Regions from separate parts of the Homo sapiens genome. Here region 2 is linked to region 1. The links are contacts of gene promoters, found by promoter capture Hi-C in human tissues and cell types (Jung and others, 2019). All regions are on one chromosome and are shown on one strand. Each heading gives the region's core, a stretch centred on a gene start or on the middle of the fragment in contact. The rest is flanking DNA. Distances are from core to core; before and after follow the strand shown. Region 1 holds the start of CIDEA (cell death inducing DFFA like effector a). Region 2 overlaps C18orf61 (a long non-coding RNA gene).

Region 1 (6,318 bases), core at 2,094-4,593:
ATATAAGGAAACAGTTTGTTTAAGGAAGTAGGCTGTTTCACAGAAATCCAGAGAGGAAAAGTCAGACTTCATAGAACGCTGTGAAACGGCATGTCTCTCAGGAACAGGTGGGAAGGGAAGGTTTTGTATTCTGCCCCGAGGGAGGCAGGGCGCCGCCAACTTCCAAAAGTGTGTGAAATACACCAACAAGCCACAGACTGACAGTAGACCTGAACTCTTCTCCAGTAAAACAAACCTGAGCCGTACAGAGAATTAAAAAGCTTTCTTTACATGCCACCTATGGAGGAAAAGGGCCCAGTATTAAGGTCTTCCTCAAAGTGAAATATTTTGGTGTCATGGGTGAGGGGGCAGCAGTACAGGCTGTGTAAAATAGTGCCTGGGAATATTCAGGGGGCAGTGATGGCTGAGGGAACTCTGCATCTCATCATTAGGAAGAAAAAGAGGCAGCCACCGTGGGAGGAAGAAGCAGTACACAGGAATTGGACAGAAGCCAACCGAGCACTGTCACCAAGAGCAGCAGGGAATGCCAAGGAGGGAAGTGTGAGGTCAAGCACAGCCACGCAGAGAAGGAAGGGAGGGCTGGGAAAGTGCTCCACAGGCCTGGAGAAGAGTCCCTGAGCTGTAGAGACAGTGTCAGAGGATGGTGGGGTCAGTGGCAGGAAGCAGGGAAGCAAGTGCTGCCTTGACGAGACTTCCTGCTGCCCGGCTCCCCTAGGGCTCTTGGACGTGACATATGCAGGTGGGAGCACACCTACCCCCCAGATAAACTCGCCCCGACAAGGACTGCCTGGTTCATGGCTCAGTTCTTCGCAAGCTACCTAAAGGCTTGACATTATCAAGTGTTCAATACATGACCATGAAGTCTTTGAACACTTTGCAGTTTCGTTAAAATAAGAATTTAAATTCAAGAAGCAGAAAGCTGAGAGATTGACTTGTAGCATACTTAATTCCTTACTAATGTCACTAAGAAGACTGGTGAAATTTGTACTGAAATAGCAGCACAAAACCTAGAGTTCCTTGTTCAAGGAAAGGAAAAATGTGCTAGATAGCTATGAAAGCAGCCATTTCACACGAAGCTTATAACATGTACCAGCTTCATAACAACTTCAGCGTTTGGCAGGAATGTTATCACTGGCAGAACACAGGAACAGAGCAGACTTTGTCTGTGATAGTCAACCTGCATGTGGACCTCCTTGATGTCTGGAGCTTTGTTGTGAGACCTCAGGCTGCTTTCCTCAGGACCAAGGCCCCTAACGATTCTAGCTGACTAACAAATGCCTGGGTTAAGGTTTCACCACTGACTACAAGTACCTGATTTTTAAAAATTTTTGTGCACATTGATTCGGTTCTTTCCTTGGTAAAATGTAGTTACTAATAAAGACAGAATTATGACATCCTGGACCTGGTTTAAATTAAGGAACCCTGAGAGGAAGCCGAAGTCCAGCAAGAGCACAATTAGCAAATATGTTAGGACCTGGCCTCTGGCTCTTTTGCCCGGACAGGGTTTTAGAGAGGGGCAGGGAAGAAAAGGTGTTTTCCCTTCAACAAGAATTACAGATTGTTTTCTTCCAGTTTAGTTTGGTAACAGGTAGATTTCACAGAATGACAGTAGTCCAGCCTGGGAGCAGGTAGATTTCACAGAATGACAGTAGTTCAGCCTGGGAGCAGGTAGATTTCACAGAATGACAGTAGTTCAGCCTGGAAGCAGGTAGATTTCAAAGAACTGCAGCAACAGCTTGTCCATAACAGGTAGAGTCATTCACTCCTGGGATGAGCCAAGCTGGAAGGAATGTGTCCTAGGAGACTCAAGGTTTCCCAATGTTTCATTTGTCAACAGCTCATAAGCAAGTCACTTCCACTTCACACGACCTCACAGAGACCCCACACAGATGCATTTTGGATTTTGGTGAGCTGTTATAATAGTCAGAGGCAGGGACAGGCTCAGCCTGAATCCTGCTCAGAGGCCAACCAGGATTGGTTAGTGCGAGTCAGCCCACACCTCCTTCCCCCATGCTCCGGAGGAACAGTGGGTGTGTTGTGAATTCACTGGAAAAGTGGTTGGAAGGACGCATTCCAAACTGCTAAGACCTCCCCTCCTGGAAGTGGGACTGTGGTGTGGATGGTTCTGGAAGAACGCAAAAGATACAGGGCCCTGACCTTTAGGCCTAAGCGTGTTAATGACCATACACGAAGCAGGTGTTTCTCAGCGTCCCCCTGCCACCGCCCCGACTTGTACTGTGGGCTTATTTTTAAAGAGAAAGATGCTTCTAACCTGCAGTGTCTACAACAGCTCCCATTTAAGAACCCGGGATTGGAAGCTCATAGATTGCGTTTCGTAGCCGGACCGCTCCCTTTCACACATGTAGTCTCTCTGCCCGCCACACGTAGCACACACAGTGGGACCCGGCGCCGCTGAACGCCTGCACCTTCAAGCCCGCAAATGGTTCTCTATCCTTTTCCAGGTACTTGATCTTCAGAGAAACACGATCTCCCTCTTAGACCTTACTTTACAGTTGCTGCCACGCAATGACTTAGGATTTTACCAAGAATTGGCTTGGGTCTGTTGGGATATGAATATTAACCCAAGCAGGAAAATAGCCAATGCTGCCTGTTCGACCACGAGCGGGTGCGAAGCGCAGGGAAGACTCCTCAGGGTCCACCCGCCCCTTGTCCCCCCTGCTCCCCAGGCAGCGTCTCCGCCCTTGGACCCGGAGGCAAGGAGGAGCGCTTCTCCCAGCACCACCAACCTGGAGGGCTCCGCCGGACGGTTGGGGCCTCCCCTCGGAGACCAGAGCCCGCGCTTCCAGGAGGGGCCAAGCCTGGGCCCCTCCCGCGCCCAGCTCCCGTTGTGATTTCCAGGACCCCCAGAAGCCCGGTCCCCTCGCATCGCGGAAGCTTTGCTCGGGGTTCCTGGGACCGGACCCTCTTCTGCGCCCGCGACTGCAGCAGCGGCCAGAGATGCATGCAGCCACTCGCCAGCTGTCACCTGGTTTGCAGACGCCCGCGCACCTCGCAAGAGCCACACCTGGTACCTGTGCCCAGCTGCAAGAGGGTGAGGAGGCGCGGGACGGGATTGGGCTCTGCCCGCGGGCGCGGCTGGACGGCTTGGGCACCAGTGGGGCGGATGGGTGTGTGCGCGGGGTCGCGGAGCGCAAGAGAATGCGGGGAGCAGGGGGCTGAAGGGAGCGGGGTACGGTACTAGAGGCGCACAGGGGAATATGAGGCCACCGAACGCAAGGCGATTGGAAGCGCACGGCAATCAGGGGGACGCGGGGCACTCGCCTGATGAGGGCTCCTGCATAGTCCCGGGCGGCCTCCATGGCGCGGATCCCCTAGCGGGCCTGGAGGTCTGTCTGCCTGCACAGCCTCTTAAAGTGCGGCGGCCCCGCCCCCGCCCGCCTGCCAGCCCCGCGAAGGCCTGACTGGCGCAGGGGAGGACGTTTTGGCACGAGCTCTCCACCGCCGAGGATCGCGACTTCGCGCTCTGGGAGCCCCCGGTCGTCCTGGCTCCCGCAGCCTGGAGCCGCGCGTCCTTCGCTGCCTTGGGCCGTACCGAGGACCTTGGAAGCCCAGATGCTCCCCGGGTCTCTTTTGGTCACTTGCCAGCCTGTTCGTTTTGCACTTCTGGGGGTCGGGGCAGTTGGGGTCATAACCAATCCTGGCAGCATCACTTTGGCCGCGGAAAGACGGGTATGTGGATTTTAAACCCAGGCCACGGGTGGGGCAGGTGAGGAGACGGATGTGAGCGCCACTTGCCTCCAGCTCTGGAGTCCCCCAGAGCCCAGCCCCAGGCTCAGCGAGCCGCTGGTTCCCTGCAGGGATGCGGAAGCTGCCGCAGACACCGGGACCTGCAGCCCTTCAGGTTCTCCGAGGCGCCTGGGCTTCCTGCCCGCTGCGCTGCTCTCAAGGCCATGTCATGAGCATTTGGGGACAGTGAGAAGGGCATGCAGAACGGGAGGGGAAAGGAGCCTTTGGACTGCATGAATTGCCTTTTAGCTGTAGTAAGGGACCCTCGCAGAGTGAGGAGGCAAAGAGTGAACCCCGCTGGGGCTGGGGGACTTCCGTCCACACCCTGCTCTCATGGTTGTTCCCATCGGAAGACGCAATTAGGGCCTCTGAGACCTCCGAGGAAGGCGGGCAGTTACAAGGGGTTCCCAGAACCCCTCACTACAGGACTGAAGAGGTGGGCTCAGTGTTGAGGGGTGGGACTCGGGCAGTAAGAGGTGTAACTTTCTGGGATGGAGGCTTGCTAGGATATCCTCTCGTGCCCAACTGCTGACTGCCGCCTGGAAACAGCGTTTCGGGAGCTGCAGCGGGACCCTCGCCGGCTCCTCCTGAGCCCACCTGGTTTGAGCAGACTGACCTGATCTCTTAAGACCTGACCCTATGCCCGCCCTCTTCCTCCGCTGGCTCTCAGAAAGGGTCACCGTGGTCAACAAGCCTTGTGACTTGCAGGACTGTTGAAGCCAAAGGCAATTGCCTTCCAGAGTCAAGGACTCCGCCTGCTGGGAACACCCAGCTCCAGGCTCACAGGGGGCAGCTTCCCCCAGAGGCACTGAGCGGACACAGCTTTAGGAGGTCATTCACTGCCCCTCCCACTCACAGCCCCAATGTGATGGATGAGAAAATGGGTCCAATCAATTCAGGTCAACTTACCTCTAACCTTTTTATTGTGAAAAAGTTCAAATATAGAGATACATAGAAAGAACAGGGCTGAGGGTACTGGCTTACATCTGTAATCCCAGTACTTTGGGAGGCCAAAACAGGAGGATGGCTTGAAGCCAGGAATTTGAGACCAGCCTGGGTAACACTGTGAGACTACTATCTCTACACAAAAATAACGATAATTAGCCAAGCATGACGGCGAGCACCTGTAGTGCTAGCTACTCAGGAGGCTGAGGAGGGAGGATCACCTGAGCCCAGGAGTTTGAGGTTGCAGTGAGCTGTGATCATGTCACTGCACTCCAATATGGGCAACAGAGTGAGACTTTCTCTCTAAAGAAAGAAAAAAATCTGTTTGTGTGTATATATCTATCTATCTATATATAAGATAGATAGATAGATAGATAGATAGATAGATAGATAGATAGATAAGAGAGAACAGTACAATGAGCACACTTACACCCAGCCCCTGGATTCAACCACTGTTAACATTTTGACATATTTCTTTGTTCTTTATATTTGAATTTGAACCCTTCCAAATTAAATCCTTTAGCTTGCATCTCTGGAGAAACAAGGACATGATCTCATACATAACCATAGTGACATTATCACTTCTAACAAAATAAAAATAAAGACCTGGGCACTGAGTGTGGACATGGGGGTGGGGTGGGGACTAGCAAACATTTCCAGGCCATGGCGATGGCAGAAGGGACCCAGCAGGAGATCACCCTGGGGTTTTGAGCTTGGGAGACTGGAGAGATGAGGAATCCTGGACGGGAGCAAGTCTGTGGTGGAAGCGGAGATGGTGGTGAGACCAGGCCCTGGGGACCCCTTGGTCACGGAGGCAGCATAGCCCTGGTGTGCATTGGTTCTCATGCAGATCTTCAGGCTGGGAGTAAAAGTCGGTCACTGCCCTGCTGCTGAGTGGGAATCCTGGAGTGCTGCGCTAGGAGGGTGGTGGGGAGAGGTGGGAGAGGGCAGAGGGCAGACTGAGCTCCAGGGGACTTGGCTGCAAACCCAACAGATGATGGAGAAGACAACAGTGCGAGTCATGCCCAGCCTTCCAGCATATTCTCGTCTCCAGCACACAAATTCATTCCACTCTCACTCGACAGGTTTCATTCATCCATGTTCAACAACTACTCTGTGCCCGGGCAACCAGGATTGGGAACCCAGCTTTTTAGTTCAATTCACCAAATGTTTGTTGTCACAGAGCCTGTGCAGCTGTGAACAGTGGGCTCCACCTGACACCCACACCCTCAGGGAGGGACCTCAGCATTGCCTTCCCTCGGCTCCCAGCAGTATCTGTGGGGTGATGCCACAGTGGGCTCTGCTCTTTCTCCAAAGTATGGATGCCTCCCCACTCCCCGAGTCTCAGCATGTGCTGGGCACAGCCCATGCTCTGGAGTGCAGAGACCTAGGTTCCTAGCCTGGTTTTGCCTCCTCTAGCTGGGTGACCTTGGGCCAGTCACATAACTACCCCAAGCCTCAGATCTTCATCTGTCACAGGGCAGCGGCCTGTCTGTCTCACAGGGTGTGTGAGACTCAAATGCCATGAGGGAAGGGCCGGCCTGGTCAGCTCCAGCAGCGTGAGTGGGACTGACCACGACAGCAATGAACGGCTCCACTCCCTACTCCTAGCCAAGAGCGCGTGCC
Region 2 (6,318 bases), core at 2,535-5,034, 38 kb after region 1:
AACCCAACAGTGGGCACTCAGTTCCACTAATGAATGAGGACTGTGAGGACAGACAGACTGAGGGGCAGGCAGATGAAGGCGTGGGTTGTACATAAAACAGGTCCACTCGATTGTTGACAAGAAACTGTTTTCAAGTTCCGTTTTGCCATGCATGGAATAGCTTTTCATTAGCTGAATTTAGTGACATATAAAATCATTAAACTAAGGCAGACACCCAGAGTTCCCACATGAAAACCAAATGTAAACCGGCTGTGACCCACTTCAACACCATCATTGGAGATCAGAAGCTGAGCCCTTTTCTGATGTTTAAAACCTGCATAATATTCAGTGTATTATTATTTGTGTATCTATTTCCTTTGTGATGGAAATTTGGTTTGTCCCAATTTTCTATTTTATTAAAACATTGCTACATAGAAAGTCCCCTTGCATATATTTCTCCTAATGGTAGAAATATTTTACATAAAAGACTCTAGAAATGGGATGAGATCCATGGGTTAGGAGAATTTTAAAACAGATAGGTCCTCCCAAATTGCCCTCTTACAAATCATACAAATTCATATGCTTCTAGCAGTTACAGAGAGTGGGTGTTACCCCCCATCCTCACCAACACTGAATGTTACACACGAGAGCTGAGTATCCCTTATCTGAAATGATTGGGACCAGAAGTGATTCCGATTTGGGTTTTTGCAGATTTCAGAATGTTTACATTTTATATGCTTACTGATTGAGAATTCCAAATCCAAAAATTTGAAATCTGAAATGCTCCAGCGAGCACTTCCTTTGGGCATCATTTAGAAGCTGAAAATGTTTTGGGTTTTGGAGCATTTTGGATTTCAGATTTTTGGATTTGGGATGCTAACCTGTATTAAACATCTGTGACAACCTGAAAGACAAAAGCACACCTCAGTGTTTTATTTTGCTTCTTTCTGCTCACAGTTTCCATGAACTTTTTTTTATCTCTGTGCTGGTGCATGCTGTGTGTGAAATGCTACTCACCCACAAACAGGTCCAGCCCAGATGGCAGCTCCGCTGTGAAGTCTTTCCCATTCTCATGGGGAACACTATTTACTTCCTGATATCCAAAAAGAACGGTGCAAATATTCCTCTCAATTGCATTGTGAGGTTTTCCTTTAAAAAATTTTATGTGGAGCCCATTTTCTAATCCTTTATTCCTTATGTCACTGGTTCCTTGTACAGATTAGGTGCAAATATTATTTGATTGGATGACTGAATGATACCACACGTTCCTTCTAGCTCTGGGAATCTGTGTTGCCATGATTCCACTGGCCTGGGACCTGTACATGAGTAGCAGTTTTAAAAAGCAAAGCTCCTATCTTTAAATAAAACCATAAATTCCTTACTCATTACTCACACCTGTATCAGGAACAGGTTTGGATGCAGGGGAAATTCCAAGGATGACGGGTATGGATCGGAAAAGACAGTGATGTCCAAGTACAGGCGGTGCACTCCACAGGTCATCTCGGACAGTCACTGGAAGCTAGGCAAAGTCTGTGGTCTCATGGCCACAAGCCCAATGATTTGACCTCAGAGGGTATCCTGCATTAGAAGCAAGAACGAATCAGAGATTTGAGGAAATAGGAGAGGTCATAATTGTCACCATGCCTGCTTTCTCAACCTAAGGACTGACAAGCATCTAGCCTTGAGCCAAAAAGGCTGCAAATACATGTGTATTTAGTAGTGGGCTGTTGCACTCCAGAGCTGGAACACGGCTTTGTACTTTGATTCTCCAGCCTCCAGGAGACTCATAAATCCTGCACTCCATGATCCAAAATGGTGGGTTTCCTTGAAAAATGTAATTAATATAATTAATTATACATAGATTCAAAAATATTCACTTTGTAGAATAAACAGAACTGACTTATGTTATACAATTTAGAAAGTTGATATTAGGTGGTTTTCACAGTTCCATTAAAATTTTTGATAATTAAGAGCTTTTATTTACTTTCAAAATTTGGTGGTAATCCCCAGTCTTCCTGTGCAAGGAATTACATTTAAGAAAAACAGTATTGCATAAAGGCAAGCAGATGATTTTGAGAGATGAAGATAAAGACAAAGAGATATTAATGTCTCTGAACCTGACCAACACCTGAAAATAATAATAATAATGATAAGGGTACATCTAGTGCTCCAGGGCTTCATTAAAAAAAAAAAACTTTAATCGTCTCAGGAACCTCAAAAATAAGGTAGAATTATAATACTTTTACATAGATTCAAGGGATTTGCTCAAGATCACAATTCTATTCAGTATCAGAGTAAGGACTGGATCCAAGCATCCTGACTCCCAAATCTGTGCTGCTGAGCACTGTGCTATGTATAAATATCACAGATCATAAGAAATAGAAACACCTGACTACAGGAACGCCCTCTGTACTTACACACTTTGGTGAGCATTAGGAAATGGGGCTACTGCAATGAAATTGAGATGAGCTTGGGAGGTCAAAAGGAAGCATTCTGCTACTCCAGTGAAATGAACATTGTGGTTTGCTCATTCTAACGTGGAAAAAAAATTTCTAATGTATCTACCCTTTAATTAACTCTTCCAAAAGAAGAAGCTGGAAGACAGATGCAATTAAAGGCTCAAATGGAATTATTTCTACCTAATGGAAGAGTTGCCCATTTTGTGAAACTGTGCTAGAAGGACCCAAACAATGCTGATGACAATTATCAGGATGATAAGCAACCTGGAAAGATAACGAGTGATGTAAATCATAGACAAGTCATGACAGGCGCCTCCATCGTGCTTCAGTGCTTGCATTCATTCTTGTGCTATTTTATTACTTTTACCAAACAAAACATAGCTCCTTGAAATCACATGAACCTATGCCTAATGAGAATCAGTTAGTAAAATGCCCGTGACTAGTAATCTTCACCTATGCAATTAAACATTCATTCATAAAATAGTTCAAATGTAAGCGAATGTGTTGAATGAAGAGTACATTAATACATTAATTAGAAAAAACATTCTATTAAAAAGAAATTATTTGTATGATAAAAGAGATCACCATTTTTGTACTTTTTCACAAACTTACAGAAAACTAAGTCAGCTTACACAGGTGAATCTTAAAAACCTCTAACCCAGAATGTAAAGTACATCGGCCAAAAATGCTAACCTAACGCATTTCAATACTACAGGACTCATGTAGGTAGAACTAACGGAATAAAATACTGGTAGTCAGTATAATCCTATCTGTGGTTCCTGAGGTCCAGGGAGAATGAGTTTGTCACCTTCCCACCTCCCATGAGCCAGTGTTTTTTCCGTGAATAATAAAAACAGCAGGATTTACTTGCCTGTCCAGAAAAGGTCATCACTTCTGTGTGTTCTCCTGAAACAGGTGGTGGCTGGGTGAAAAGGCGGACAGCATTAGGGCTGGAGATGGAGGCTCCAGAATCTTGGATGAGCTTCTGAAACCTCTGCAACTTCCAGCCACTAAATGGAATGAGCCACGGAAAGCTTTAGCCCAATGCCCAGAACAAGATCAGGGTTTAGTGCATGGCACTGCTCTCCTTGTAGTTCTGTCATCAGCCGCCACACATCCATCAGGAACACACATCCTGAGTTATTCTATTTATAATAAGCACAAACTAAAAGAGAGCGAACTCTAGCACACAAAGTTGTAGTGGCTAGCTTTGGAAAGGAGGAGATAGAAGGACAGTTTTGGGGTGCAGGTAACTTCTAGTTTTTGACCTGACTTGTAGTTCCATGGGTGCTCACTTTGTGATAAGTTACAGAGCTGTGTATTTAGGTTTCATGTGTTTTCTGTATGTAGGTTGTACTTTAGATTTTTAAATGTTTCACAAAATACTATGACAGTATATGGTCTATTGAAAATGTGGAAGGAGAAAGAGAAGACTCTGTGGTCCATTCTGTCACTTGCCAGCCCCTGGCTTCAGGCCCAGATGGCTCTAGGTGTCCTGGGTTGACTGAACTCTTGCAGCAGCCTCTTGGAATGAGCACCTTCCCCCACTCTGTCCCTTGGTAACATGGGCCCATCCTTAATGGCTGCGTTTGATAAACTCATCTGTGTTAGTGTGTGGATGACTCATCTGTTACCTCCTTCATGTGATGTATATAGGGACATCTGGATGGTGCATTCACCTGTCCGAGCAGGTGAGAAATGCATCCCTCATGACAAACATGAATGAAGTTTTGTGAATATATGGTTGAACGTCGAGAGTGTCAGCAAAAGTCAGGTACAATTAGAGACACTTAAAAGGAAGAAAAACAATTTCATTTAAAAATAGGGCCTTAGTTTTTGTATGTGGAAAGAGATAAAATTAACCTAAATGTCTTCTCCTGTCTCTAGCACTCTGATTAGTTTCACTGGACCCAACCACTGGAGCCTCTAATCCGCTTCTCCATCTGCACTTCTCCAAGAGCATTCTAGGCAGAGCCCAGGGGGCCCTCGGCAACCCCCTGTGAGGAGGAGCTCGGTCTCTCTCTCTCTCTCTGACACCTGCTTCTGGACCTTGGTGTGGAAGTCCATGGAGAAGGGGTGCTGCCATTACTGAGGCTGGAGGTCAGAGGCTCATCAGAGAGGCTACCCTGACCTCCTAGTCCTGGGGCCAGCAAAGGGTGCAAGCACTGGCTAGTGGCTGGGTGCTATGACCCATGAGGCATACATAGAAACCAAGTCAGCATTTTGTTGATCTCCCAAGAAAGCTTCAATTTTCTTCGCTATTCATAATAATGGCAGAAAGTTCATTTTAGGAATATTTTCAATAATTATTGTCACCTGATGAGTAAATTAAACTACTACAAACAATCTGATTACAGAGCAGTGAAAGTCAGTTCAGTTCTCCAGCTGTCTCAGGGGGACCAAGAAGTGGCGGTGCATATTTGAATACCTACTCAGGCAGAAATGTCACCAAATGCAGCCAGTGCATCTTATCCAATTCCCATTTACCTCATTCTACCTCAGCCTTCAGTACCCTCTGCCATACTCTATGGACTTCCTCCAGTCCAAGCCACTCACCAAAATGGGACACCCAGACCCAAATGACTTCAAAAATCCAGCAGGGAGGTTGAAAAGCGAGGTGAGCAGAGGAGCAAACACACCAAATATCCCTGCCTCTGACCACTGCACAAGCTCTTCTGTCCCTCTGGTCTTCTGTTTTTACCTCCAGACATAATGGATTTCCAGTTTTTCATGTTTCTCTACACCTTAGAAACATTCCTCAGAATTCATACCCTGAAAGGGATGTCCTCAGTTCATGGCTTGCCTGTGTACAGAATGGGGCTGATCTTCCCTGGCCTCCCTGTGAGAAACATGGGCAGTAGCTTCAGGAACTCCCCCAGGATGCAGGCGGCCTTCATGTGAGACTCCTCCATGCCTCATAGGCAGTGCTGTACAATACCTTGCCAGGAACACACAACATACTCATGAAACCACCAACCACAGGAGATTTTAAAGGTGAGTGTCTCTACCAAGTGTTTACCAATACAGTAAGAAATGATGTCATGGCTGCTGGAAAACAATGGGCTTTGGCATAAAACATGGACTTAACTCCCTGGTCCTCTTAGGTGAGTGTTTCACCTCTAAAGTGTCAGATTTCTCATCACTAAAGCAGACCTAGAGGAAAACCAGAGGCTAATCTTCCTCAGGAGCACAGATGCAATAAACAGAGTAGAAAGTACCAATCCTTAAGTCAATCTGAAGAACCAAAACCAAACCAAAGGAAACAAGGCAATCAATGTATTGTGCCAGATGACATGGCATATAGTGAAACCTTTTCAGTGGTTTTAAAATATTAGGGGAAAAACAAGCTCTGGGAGTGGCTACTGGAGAAATTTTCATGAAAGATGTCATGCTAAAACAAAATATTAAAGAATAGACAACTTTTTTTCCCTCTTGTGTAGGTGGTGGAAATATTCTAGTAAGCTTGTTATGAAGTGCAGGAGCCCGCCTGCCTGATTGAGCTGGAGGGGGTGTTGGGGGATAGCAATCCACAGTGTTGGAGAAAGTGGGCTTGATGCTTATCACAATCAAGGTCAACTTATGAACACTTTAATATGTGACTAGAAAGAACAGGAGAGTCTGTAATGCATTACCACCTCAGGAGTTGGCACTGAGTTCCATGGTTGGATGATGGGTGGATGGACAGACAGATGGACAGGTGGATAAATAAGTAGACTTGACATGAGTCAAGTGTTCTTGGCTTCTGGGAAGAAAATTTTTTAAAGTTTCCATTTTCTACAAATCTAAACAGCTTCCTCTGAAGCTGAATTTAGTAGCATTTAAAAATCATTAAACCAAGACAGAGTTCCTACATATAAACCAAATGCAGGCCAGATATTAC

What was found. The method cuts DNA at HindIII sites, captures the fragments that hold promoters and counts their contacts. A contact is called where the count stands out against the background at its distance.
Region 2: a contact is called between a fragment that was not itself captured here and the fragment with the promoter of CIDEA in region 1, in 5 of the 25 tissues and cell types used here (IMR-90 fibroblasts, bladder, hippocampus and 2 more).

The regions. Positions count from the first base shown.
Region 1 is chr18:12,251,386-12,257,703 of GRCh38, reverse strand. CIDEA (cell death inducing DFFA like effector a) reads right to left here and starts at 3,343. Exons shown (of 5, transcript NM_001279.4): 1 at 3,283-3,343. The coding sequence starts at 3,320. It overlaps LOC105371996 (a long non-coding RNA gene), which reads right to left and starts at 2,691. Exons shown (of 2, transcript XR_935158.3): 1 at 2,273-2,691; 2 at 248-2,125. RefSeq lists an enhancer at 3,601-4,207. The HindIII fragment of the contact is 10,266 bases long and covers 1,987-6,318 here.
Region 2 is chr18:12,213,887-12,220,204 of GRCh38, reverse strand. It overlaps C18orf61 (a long non-coding RNA gene), which reads right to left. Exons shown (of 5, transcript NR_049896.1): 4 at 1,373-1,557. Among named protein-coding and RNA genes, the nearest start is that of C18orf61, 16 kb to the right of the region's middle. The HindIII fragment of the contact is 5,582 bases long and covers 994-6,318 here.